Linked DNA regions of Homo sapiens: all the other regions are linked to region 1. The links are contacts of gene promoters, found by promoter capture Hi-C in blood cells and fetal thymus (Javierre and others, 2016). All regions are on one chromosome and are shown on one strand. The core of a region is centred on a gene start or on the middle of the fragment in contact, and the rest is flanking DNA. Distances in the headings are between cores, read along the strand shown.

Region 1 (3,753 bases), core at 80-2,579:
TCTCACTTATTTGACAGTGAAAGCTTATGTTAAGCAGGCAGGGAGAGTTGCTTCCCAGTGCCGATCTTAGCACATTACTATTTATCAATCATATATTCATGGTATCTCAGCATCAAAACAACCTGAAGCATTTACACTTAAAGTTGTTTTTAGGCTGGTTCAATGCTAGATTAAAACAGTGGGTTTTATTCTCTCTTGGACAGCCCCTCCTCCCCACCCCACCCCCACAAAAAAAAAAAGCAAAAAGAGTAGAGAAATGAAAAAAAAAAAAAAGAGAAAATGAGAAAAAAAAAAGAAACAAAAACACCCCATATAAACAAAAAGTGTCAGCATTTGTCTCAACTTCATTCTTTTCAATGTGGCAGACAAACCCAGCCAAAAACTTTGAGTGCAGCAGCTGCTGCTGCCCTCCATCTCCTCTTCCACTCATGTTGGGCACTTTAATCAGAAAAAGGGGTCTTAAAAACAAAACTATGCCTTATCCAAATCACTGAAAGGTAAGCTCATTTTGAAGACTGGGCTTCTAGAAGCAGAGTCGCCCTACAGTGGCAACAAAGCAGATAAGTATCTGCAATCCCAACCCCCGTGCCCCCTCCCTTCTCATTTTCTCCCTCTCCCCACCCCCGACGGAGTCAAGTTTATAAACAGCAACTTTCAAACTGATCACTCACATTGGTGACCATGTAAGGCACTTGCTGGTCATAAAATCCATCCATGCTGCTGCTCTTCGCAAATCTCAGCTCAGTATTTTATATTTTGAGCATTTAGCTGGAGATTTCCTCAGGATCTGGACTTCTATCAACCTAGAGGGGAACAAGATGGCTTTTAGGCTTAAAAAAAAATCATGAATGAAGCTCTTGAATTTGCATAGCTAATTACCCTCCGACAGTCCCATTCACAAAAATAACCCTCCCTACACCGCCTCCTTCACCTGGATCCAAAGAGAGCCAACAGAGTTCACAATTTACATATTTTCGGTAGTAGCAAAAATCCGAACAAGAGGCGATGTATTTATTTACACTCTCGATGTTTCCCTGCGCGGTCGGTGTACCCCGGGCAGCTCTGATTCGCAAACGTGTGCAAAACTAGCAATGGCGATCAACGAGACTTGCTTTGCACCTAACGGGACTAAAGAGACGGAGACACCTCTTTCATCAGGATAGTTTTTGCGACCCACAACCATGCAATTATCTGGAGAGACATAAAAAGTTGTTGGAAAGACCCACCTGAAGGCCACGCTAGGCGAAAGGCTGCAAAAACTTCCCTCCAAATTTAATAAAAACATTAATTATAGCCCAGCACTTCCCCCTTGGAAGCCGAAAGCGCCTCTGACAGAGCTCAATTCGGTGGTTTTTCCTCTACTTCTCCTCCAGGGGCCTCCAATCCAAACTGATGGATCGCTGCCTCCCATTGGCTCCGCGTCTCTTTCACAAGATCAGATTTCGGGCTGTCAATCAGGCGGCTTGCTGCCCCTTCCCGCGGGTCTCCCTCGCCCCTCTGCCCTAGGGGGTGCTCGGCCGGTAGGCGCTGGGTCCTCAGCCTGGAAGCGCCACGGAGAGACTCGATTTCCTCTGTAACCCGCTGCTTATTGTTAAGGCGCCTGGGGATACTGAAACCGTGTGTTTCGAGTCGCCAGTTCCCATTATTGGGGTGTTAGGTCCACTATTGGGCTGGTTTCCTTAAAGTACTGTTGTGCGGTTCTGGTATACCCTTAGAGCCGCGATCCACAAAGCCCGTACCGCCTTATTCAGCTGCCCTCCCCTCAGGATCTCCAACCTCTCTACTCTTGCCCTGACTAGGAGCTCACCTCGCTCTCTATCCTCATTCCCACTCAGCTTTTGGCCCAATTTATTTTCCCGTTTTTCAAAACCCACCATCACCATTATGGTTTATCGAAACATTTTTTAAACAGTCATCCTCAACTAAAATTAGATCCTATCGTTCGTGGGACAGAAACATAAAGAATCTATAAGGAAGGCACCTAGGAGATGCAGAATTGCTGATTAGCAGAGGTTGTGATGGGAGGACAACAGAGCAAGCTAGGTGAAAAAGTATAAGTCAAAATGGTCCCTACGTGTGCACTGGGAAAAGGTACTTCCAGTCCACTGTGGCTGTGGGGAGGAGGAGGGAGTGCTTGGGGTTGCTCGTATATCCTAGAACCCGCACGTTTCCTGAGCTTTTGTTATGTATACACGGAGGCGGAGGGTGTCACTTACTGTACTTGACGCTTTCACTTCCTCTCCAGCTTTTAAACAGCCAGAGCCCAGGGTTGGGGGCGAGCGGTGAGATGGCTCGGGTTTCAAGGACAATAACTAGGACGTTAAGCAGTGAGGGCTGCATCTCTGAAGCCACTTGCCCTGATCCTCCTATGGGACTCAGAACAGTAAAGCGTCACTTTAAGGAGCCAGTGTCCAACAGCGGACGGGAGGCCGCGGGGATAGGACCAGGGACTCAATGCTGTTGAAATTCATTTGTGACCAGAACTAGTGACCAAAAGACGTTTCCGGCAGCTGTTCCGCCCGTTAGGAAACGTGCTGCAGTTCTCAATTTCTATTTGAAAGTTTCCTTCCTTAAATAGAACGTTATGGAGACACATTAAAATGGAGTGTAAGAGCGCACAGCACTCAACCCCGGACCTGGGCAGGAGAAAGATCTACTTAAAAAAGAAGCAAACAAACAAACAATCAACACTTATTACTGGGAAAACAACCAATAACTATGGACAGCAAAGACAGACCCCGCGCATTCCCGGAAACTACTAAATCGGAGTTCACAACGCGCGCACCTATAAGCATTTTGAGCGGGAACTGCATTTTAACCCCGGCCAAGGAGAGATTCCAGGAAGCGCCTGGGCCCCGAGGCTGAACAGTGAAGCTCATGGGTACTATCTGAGGGTGCAACCAAGCAGGGGGTCAATAACAAGGGTCCTCCACCACCCTGCACTCCTGGAATAACCCAGCGCCTGTAATCTGAGCAACAGTTTCCAAAGACCTTCTCTGCAGCCCGAGCCTGACGGGTATCCAGGGTAACCGCGAGGGGGCGGAGCTTCGGGTTAGGTCCCGGCGAGGTTCTTCCCGCAGCCAATAACGAGCCGTAAATCCCCAGCCCATTGTTGTTTATTGCTGACCCCTCAGCGCTCCGCTAGGAGATTGGCCGCTTTAGGGAAGGGGGCGGAGTCCCGCCCGCCCCAACAGCCACCTTTCGTCTCCATTCACAAAATTCCGGCCCTTCTTGGTCACGTGGTTGGGGGCGTGGAGGGGTAGAGGAAATGACACAACAAAGGCCCAAGTATCCCAAACCACAAAACTTTTTTCAGCTCGCTGCCTCCTCTTTGTCCTGTCCCTGAAACAGATACTAGATGAGGAAAAAGAGGTTGGGGTCTGGGAGTAATAACAAGAGAGAAAAAAATTAAGACCGAAATTAAAGGAAGGCTCACGTGGGGATAATTCCGGCGTGCACTGCTTAGACAGCTTTTGCACTAGAGGAAAGAAAGAATTGAGAGTGGGGAGAAAGTCTTAAGGACTGGGAACTTTTGCTTGCTGCTTCAAGTCATTGCTTTTAAAGGTGCAAACTGTTCGACTGTAGATGGATTTCAGTTTTTTCACTTAACATTCTGTAATTTTCATTTCTACCTTTTTTTGTATCCCACAGTGTCTTGTTAGTTTTTTAAAGCTTTTATGTATTATTAGTATTATATATTTTTAGGAATATTGATGGTTTTCGCTGGCTGATAGCTTTAGTTTCCATTTCCAA
Region 2 (4,076 bases), core at 1,222-3,721, 220 kb before region 1:
GACAGGGATGCCCTCTCTCACCACTCCTATTCAACATAGTGTTGGAAGTTCTGGCCAGGGCAATTAGGCAGGAGAAGGAAATAAAGGGTATTCAATTAGGAAAAGAGGAAGTCAAATTGTCCCTGTTTGCAGACGTCATGATTGTATATCTAGAAAACCCCATTGTCTCAGCCCAAAATCTCCTTAAGCTGATAAGCAACTTCAGCAAAGTCTCAGCATACAAAATCAATGTACAAAAATCACAAACATTCTTATACACCAACAACAGACAAACAGAGAGCCAAATCATGAGTGAACTCCCATTCACAATTGCTTCAAAGAGAATAAAATACCTAGGAATCCAACTTACAAGGGCTGTGAAGGACCTCTTCAAGGAGAACTACAAACCACTGCTCAAGGAAATAAAAGAGGATACAAACAAATGGAAGAACATTCCATGCTCATGGGTAGGAAGAATCAATATTGTGAAAATGGCCATACTGCCCAAGGTAATTTACAGATTCAATGCCATCCCCATCAAGCTACCAATGCCTTTCTTCACAGAATTGGAAAAAACTACTTTAAAGTTCATATGGAAGCAAAAAAGAGCCCGCATCACCAAGTCAATCCTAAGCCAAAAGAACAAAGCTGGAGGCATCACACTACCTGACTTCAAACTATACTACAAGGCTACAGTAACCAAAACAGCATGGTACTGGTACCAAAACAGAGATATAGATCAATGGAACAGAACAGAGCCCTCAGAAATAATGCCGCATATCTACAACTATCTGATCTTTGACAAACCTGAGAAAAACAAGCAATGGGGAAAGGATTCCCTATTTAATAAATGGTGCTGGGAAAACTGGCTAGCCATATGTAGAAAGCTGAAACTGGATCCCTTCCTTACACCTTATACAAAAATCAATTCAAGATGGATTAAAGACTTAAATGTTAGACCTAAAACCATAAGAACCCTAGAAGAAAACCTAGGCATTACCATTCAGGACATAGGCATGGGCAAGGACTTCATGTCTAAAACACCAAAAGCAATGGCAACAAAAGCCAAAATTGACAAATGGGATCTAATTAAACTAAAGAGCTTCTGCACAGCAAAAGAAACTACCATCAGAGTGAACAGGCAACCTACAAAATGAGAGAAAATTTTCGCAACCTGCTCATCTGACAAAGGGCTAATATCCAGAATCTACAATGAACTCAAACAAATTTACAAGAAAAAAACAAACAACCCCATCAAAAAGTGGGTGAAGAACATGAACAGACACTTCTCAAAAGAAGACATTTATGCAGCCAAAAAACACATGAAAAAATGCTCATCATCACTGGCCATCAGAGAAATGCAAATCAAAACCACAATGAGATACCATCTCACACCAGTTAGAATGGCAATCATTAAAAAGTCAGGAAACAACAGGTGCTGGAGAGGATGTGGAGAAATAGGAACACTTTTACACTGTTGGTGGGACTGTAAACTAGTTCAACCATTGTGGAAGTCAGTGTGGCGATTCCTCAGGGATCTAGAACTGGAAATACCATTTGACCCAGCCATCCCATTACTGGGTATATACCCAAAGGACTATAAATCATGCTGCTATAAAGACACATGCACACGTATGTTTATTGCGGCATTATTCACGATAGCAAAGACCTGGAACCAACCCAAATGTCCAACAATGATAGACTGGATTAAGAAAATGTGGCACATATACACCATGGAATACTATGCAGCCATAAAAAATGATGAGTTCATGTCCTTTGTAGGGACATGGATGAAATTGGAAATCATCATTCTCAGTAAACTATCGCAAGAACAAAAAACCAAACACCGCATATTCTCACTCATAGGTGGGAATTGAACAATGAGATCACATGGACACAGGAAGGGGAATATCACACTCTGGGGACTGTGGTGGGGTGGGGGGAGGGGGGAGGGATAGCATCGGGAGATATACCTAATGCTAGATGACGAGTTAGTGGGTGCAGTGCACCAGCATGGCACATGTATACATATGTAACTAACCTGCACAATGTGCACATGTACCCTAAAACTTAAAGTATAATAAAAAAAAAAAAAAAAAAAAAAAAAAAACTTACACGTTCTACTGAAAGTGGATCTTATTGTCATCAATCTGAAGTACCTTTGACCAAGACAATCTAGTTGATTCAGTTAGTGTTACCTAATGCTATTCTATCTGTAATATCTTGTTTCTTTTCCAACTTGTCCAGTAAAATAAGTACCTCTGTTGTTGGAAATTTCTCCAAGAATATCCCATGAGGGAAGCACATTTTCTAATAACAGTTTTAATTATTGTTATACCATCAGCCTTCTTTCATGGAAAAGCTTCTATCTAACCAGAAAACATGGATTGAAAATCACAATTGAAAAAAATTCCTCTATAAATGTTCAAACAGATCATTAGGCAGCAGAAATGTACCTGAACTTGTGAATGTCTTCACAAAATGAAGGGTTTGAGTAACCAAACGTTAGTCATAGTAATTTTGCCAATTTTAGAACAGTCACCACACCATATTTTTTAATGTAATTTGGATCATTTTGTCTCTTTATGATGAGTCATCATGAAGTGCATAGTTTTTAATAATGGAAGCTTTAAGTACTCAGAAGGGACCAGGTGGCTGTCCAGGCTCTCCATGAGTCCATGCTTAACACTGGATTTACACTCTCTAAAATATCAACATTGTTTCTGTAATTCAGGTTCATAGCACTGTTTATTAAATGGGTTAACACAGGTAATTTGACTTGATCACGAAGTTCACTCAAATTGCCTGTCTTAGCAATTTTAGTACTGGCTGACTTAGCATGAAAATCTGCCACAGTATTTCCTTGGTAATTAATTAGTTCTTATACTGCTTGAGTTAGCAGTTTTATGAGCCAGTCAGTCTTCCTCATTAGAGTTCTGGGAGTTCTTACTGAGTCCAGTGGTATGAACTTAAGGTTATCAGCAACCTGTGCTTGTCAGAGTCATTTCCAGTCTCTCCATGAACCTCCTTGAAGACATAACACTTTAAGATCGTAATTGTTTATAAAGAGCTTTCAGAAAAAACATCGGAATTAACAATTAACTACAGACAACAAGACTTGAAATGGTTATGGTTAAAAAGGCATTTGGCAAGGAAATTTGGTTATTTGTATGGCCCACAGTAATTTAATGTAATAAAAATAATTATGACTGATAACATATCCTGAGCTTATACAATTTTGGAACATGTATTAATAACATATCTATACAACTATAACTCAAACCAAAAAGGTTAAGTATCATTTCTTATTTGATAATACTTTCCATTTAAGTTAACATAGCATATAAATGGTTTTCATATATCTCTTTTGGATGCTCCCGGGGCCCTCTGGAACATCTCAAAGTTAGTTTGAGATCAAAAAGACTTAATTTTGATTTTAAAATTTGATTTTTGGAAGTCTACCAAATATATTAAGGGTTTAAAATACCTAACCAAAATAGGATCACATGTCACCGAAAATAATAGTCATTTAACCAAAGTGATAATTAAAACATCTTAAAAAATAAAAACTTTTACTCTTTGATAAAGAGGAGACTCGGTTTTCCAAATAATCAAAAGACCTAATAAAGTCAGAATAAGGCACAGAATATTTGTTTCTCTTTCTCTTTTATTCTCTCTCTCTCTCTCCGTTTTTGCAGTTTACTCAAAAGGTGAATAAAAATCTTTTATTATCTCTTATTAATACAACACAAAAATCTTGCTTAAAACAGAAAGCTAAATTTTATTTTCACCCTAATTTTCTTTTGATATTAAGGCTCAGTTTTTAAAACTCTTACAATGAATTTATTTATCCTTAGTTTAGCCACACAATATTTTTAACTTTTTTTCCTTTTTTAAACTTTCTATGTCCATTCAGTTTTATCTATATCATTTTTTATTTGTTTATTTTGAAGCAATGTTTAAATAATGTCTGAGATAAAATTACTTTAAAAGAAAATACACTTTTATATCTCCTTTATAACCTTTCTCACCAAAAACATATTTTTCCTTTTTTATTATATATTTTGCATAGAGAATTGTTACCCTTATTTTTAGTA
Region 3 (4,070 bases), core at 60-2,559, 250 kb before region 1:
TAGACAGCATTGACTGAAGTACAGCCTTGTGCAATTTTAGGGGGTCCTAGGAAGGGGCTAAGATTACTTTTTTTCAGGCTCTCCTTTCTCTTTAAAGCCTCTGGGTATATTGATCATGTTCAGGCCTCAAATATCAGTGGGGTGTGGAAGGAGGTGAGAGGAAGGTTATTCTACCTTGTAACATAGTTATCCCAAACCTCATTCTGGAATTTGACTCCTGTTTGAACTTAGGGAGCAATTAAAATACAGTCATGCCAACTCAGCCCCAGCCAAATGCTTTACACTTTTCTACTACAGGAATGCTCATCTCTTAAGCCAAGATTCCAATCCTTGTTTGTCCCTAGGCTGGAAAGCCACATCACTGACACAGCTGTTGAGATGAAGCCGAGATAGTGGAGTGGAGTCTTGACCTTTTACTCACCCTCTAGCACAGCCCATAAAGGGCCTGCATGAAACTTTGGAACTTTCTGAAGCACTGGGTGAAAACCACTAATCTAAAATGTTCTTCCAAAGTCCTTCCGGGTCCTAAATATTTGCATTCTATATAACACCATACTACTGGTTTTTATGAGCAACGTGTTCTTCCTTATTTAGTTTGGCCCCTCACATTCAAATATATGGGAGCTGCATTAGGAACCACATTTCCAATATATTCACTCTGGTTTGGGGACACAATTGTACAGCAGATTGTGGCACCAGATCTCTGATACATCAAAATGTCAAAAATTTGGTTACCTCTTATGGGATAAAGTAGAAGATTATGGTAACAGGTAAATATAAGTAACTCTCAGAAAGCAAAGTTTGAAGGTGTTTTATCTATTGAATATGCTAGCAAATTTTCACTTTCTTTTAAATGAAGATTAGGAAGGCCCCCACCAATATGCTACAGTGCCCTGATGCCTACGTCTACTGCTGAGTAAATACTCAGCTTTGCTCATGTAACTGGACCAGCATATTTGTCTGGAGCTGATGCTGCCCTCTGGCTGCCAATGTGAATTAAATCCTTACAGAAATAACTAAGCTTCATCACAAACAAGCAAGTTCAGTTTTGGAACTGAATCTTTGATAAGGTTCTCTGAGAAGCCCTCATTCTGGATCATGAAGTCAATACTCACTTCATACTCTCTTAACAGTATAGCACTTCTAAAGGGCAACATCTCAGCTCCCTCTGTTTCTAGCACTCAATATTGCCAATGAAAGGAAATTTTTTAAAAAACCATGTTCTGTAAGAATAAAAATAAACAAACTTCATAGAAAATCACAATGAGACAAATTCTTTTACCAGTGTCTCTGGCTTTCACATGTTTTTGCATAATGAAAGGGCTAATATAACATAACAAATCCTAAACTGTTTTCACAAGGAGTGGAAAAAAGATGTGTAAAAGTATGCTCTGTCTTGCTTCCTTCTGTTCACAATGTATCTAAATAAAACAAATGGTGTTCTTGCTCTTTCTGTCTGTTTCCCAATCTGTTTGGATAGTAGCCACCATCCCGCAGCCAACGATAATATCTGACACTTCCTGACATCATGAAAGCCACCATCTGTCTATCACCAAAACCCTGTACTTTTTAAAGACTACTTGGCTTGATCCTTAATGAAGCTTCAAGTTGAATGCACAGATCGCTTTAGAAGGAATACAAGGAATAATTGACACAAGGTATCTGTATAAAATCACGTTCTCATTAGATTCCATTTGAAAACATAAAATGAAATATTAAGGCCCCTTTCAGGCAGAAAAAGCATGGTTTACTTTCAATTGTGTTTCATTTCCGATTTGCCTGTGAAAGTTTAGACAGTGTTGAACACCAGGAATAAACCTAAACTAAAGCCTAAGCTTTAAATTCAATATTTTCCAGTCTTGTAAAATTAAACAGTTAGACATGACTTTGCAGTTTGTATACTTGAGCTATGAAAAAAGAAGAAAATCCATCAATTATTTTTCCAAGGCTTGAGAAAATCATGCCATTTAAAACTGAATCAACTTCTTTAACACCTGAACGATTATCCAGGAAACAAAAGAAGGTTCTGTATGTCTTCACTTGTAAATGTCACAGGTGAACACAAACAACCCTGTGCTGGCAATGTCAAGTCACTCTTTGTTTTATTAAACTGTTGTACCTCTATGTGTGCAACAAGGGAATTAGTTAACAGGGGAGACTGCGGAAAAATATAATAATTCCTAGGTGATATTAAGTTCTCTCAGAAAAAGTAAAGCTTTCCAGGGAGAAGACGGATTAACAAGTTTCATACACAACTTTCTTGACTGCACTCCAGTGTTGTGATTTGTGACATTGATTTCACACTAATGTCTTTCTTTTCTCTCCTTACTCCAATGTTGTCCTGTGGTTCCTTTTAACAACCTCATAAATCCAAATTTTGTGAAGTCATAGATATTTATCTGATAGTCAAAAACGTGTATGTATGTAGAATACACACTATATTCACTTATATATGTATATGTGTGTATGTGTGCATGTATGTATACAGGAAAGAGAATGAGAGCGCTATAGAGGCAGACACAGAGAAACGACGTGTGTGTGTGTCTGTGTGTCTGTGTGTGAATGTTTAGATCAGCCATAAGTTTATATCTTAAACTGGGGGAAAGATACGTATACAGTTCTGTTACAAAGTCCTTATGAGAGTTGAAGTTGCATTTCTCCAGAAAAAAATAGCTTGGTAAAATAAGATTTATCATGTGCTTATGCTATGCTAGGTACATGGTCATGCGCTTCATAATTGTCATTTCATTTGATTATATTTGTTGGGCACTATTACTATCCCACTGTTTTGAAGAGGTAATTAAGGCTTATAGATGGTAACTTAACTTGCTGAAGATCCCACAGCTAGTAAGTAATAGATACTGGATTCAAATCAAAATGGTGTGATTCAATGCCTGTGCTCTCTCCCACCACGACTGTACAGTATCCCTTGCTTAGACTGTGTACCCTCATACAGTCTCTAGCTATGAGATTATAAAACTTGGCACAGTAGGGAAAAGGGGGAAAGTGGACATCAAAATATTTTCATCCACATGAGTGACAGCCTTCCAAATCATCATCATGAAAGTCTAAGCACTTATTTTTCCAATTTAGTTGATATTTTGGAAGGGCAAGTGACTCTAAGCCATTTTATCAGCTTTAAAAGAAAAGATCATGTTGCATTTTGCCCCCATATTGGATTTATAGAACAAGCCCCACCTTAGCTGAAAAGCAGCCTCATTGCTATTCTTTGTCTGTCCACTCTACATCACTACGTTTTCAGATGGACAGTGAAGAATGAATTATCCACTTGAAATAACAGTGAGGGAGGCAGAATGGTTCACTTGAGTAGATAGTCTATCATAACACTAGACTCTTACTCCACTCAACGCACCGTGATCCTTAAAACCAACAGATGCCTGGGGAGCTGTATTCGACATGTTATCCAAGGTTCTTCCTAAGAACCTTGTCATGGAAATAGCTGTCATTTTTTTCTCCCAAACTAATTCAGAGTAAAGGGTATATCTTCATATCACTGAGTCTTCTACTTTCTGCTTGTCACCTAACCTATTGAAAAAAGAAACATAAAAATATACACCCTTGAGCTGAAACATTAGCAAAACCTGCAGCTAGTCCTTTTACTGTGTGTGTGTCTTGAATTGTACTGGGACTCTCCATAGACATTTGATTTTATTCATTAGTTTAATAACATTTAATTGCTCCTCATTTGTTACATGCAAACACATTCATTTCATGTTACACTTCCCTCTACTAGAGAATTCAGGCTCATGTTTCGCAACCTGGAGATGGGGCATTGTAGTTTTTAGAATAGAAATAACACATCAGAAAAAAATGAGAGCAGGTTGTTTAAATAAAAAGTGAATAAATTATTCAGACCAGCTGTTTGGATTTGGAAAGAACTTTTCTGTGTTGATTAAAACCTCTTAATTTGTTTTGTGCTGCTGTGAAAGAGCAGGGTGTAAATAAGTTGGGACCAGAATGCCCTTCTCTGTCAGAAGTACTTGGTCCAGCCCAAAAAAATATGGCCACCTCAGAATGTCTTAATCTTTAGAATAATGTAGGAAAGTGGG

Evidence for each region. Contacts are between HindIII fragments. The CHiCAGO score rates a contact against its expected background, and 5 or more counts as called.
Region 2: a fragment that was not itself captured here is called in contact with the fragment with the promoter of ETV1 in region 1 in 1 of 17 cell types (total CD8 T cells); the score reaches 5.3 in total CD8 T cells.
Region 3: a contact is called between a fragment that was not itself captured here and the fragment with the promoter of ETV1 in region 1, in 1 of 17 cell types (total CD8 T cells). The highest score is 7.2, in total CD8 T cells.

The regions. Positions count from the first base shown.
Region 1 is chr7:13,988,337-13,992,089 of GRCh38, forward strand. ETV1 (ETS variant transcription factor 1) reads right to left here and starts at 1,330. Exons shown (of 14, transcript NM_004956.5): 1 at 1,227-1,330; 2 at 932-1,128; 3 at 672-803. The coding sequence starts at 716. RefSeq lists an enhancer at 2,850-3,351. The HindIII fragment of the contact is 3,649 bases long and covers 22-3,670 here.
Region 2 is chr7:13,767,945-13,772,020 of GRCh38, forward strand. No RefSeq gene overlaps it. Among named protein-coding and RNA genes, the nearest start is that of ETV1, 220 kb to the right of the region's middle. The HindIII fragment of the contact is 265 bases long and covers 2,340-2,604 here.
Region 3 is chr7:13,741,954-13,746,023 of GRCh38, forward strand. All of the region lies in intron 3 of LOC105375161 (a long non-coding RNA gene), which reads left to right. Among named protein-coding and RNA genes, the nearest start is that of ETV1, 250 kb to the right of the region's middle. The HindIII fragment of the contact is 580 bases long and covers 1,020-1,599 here.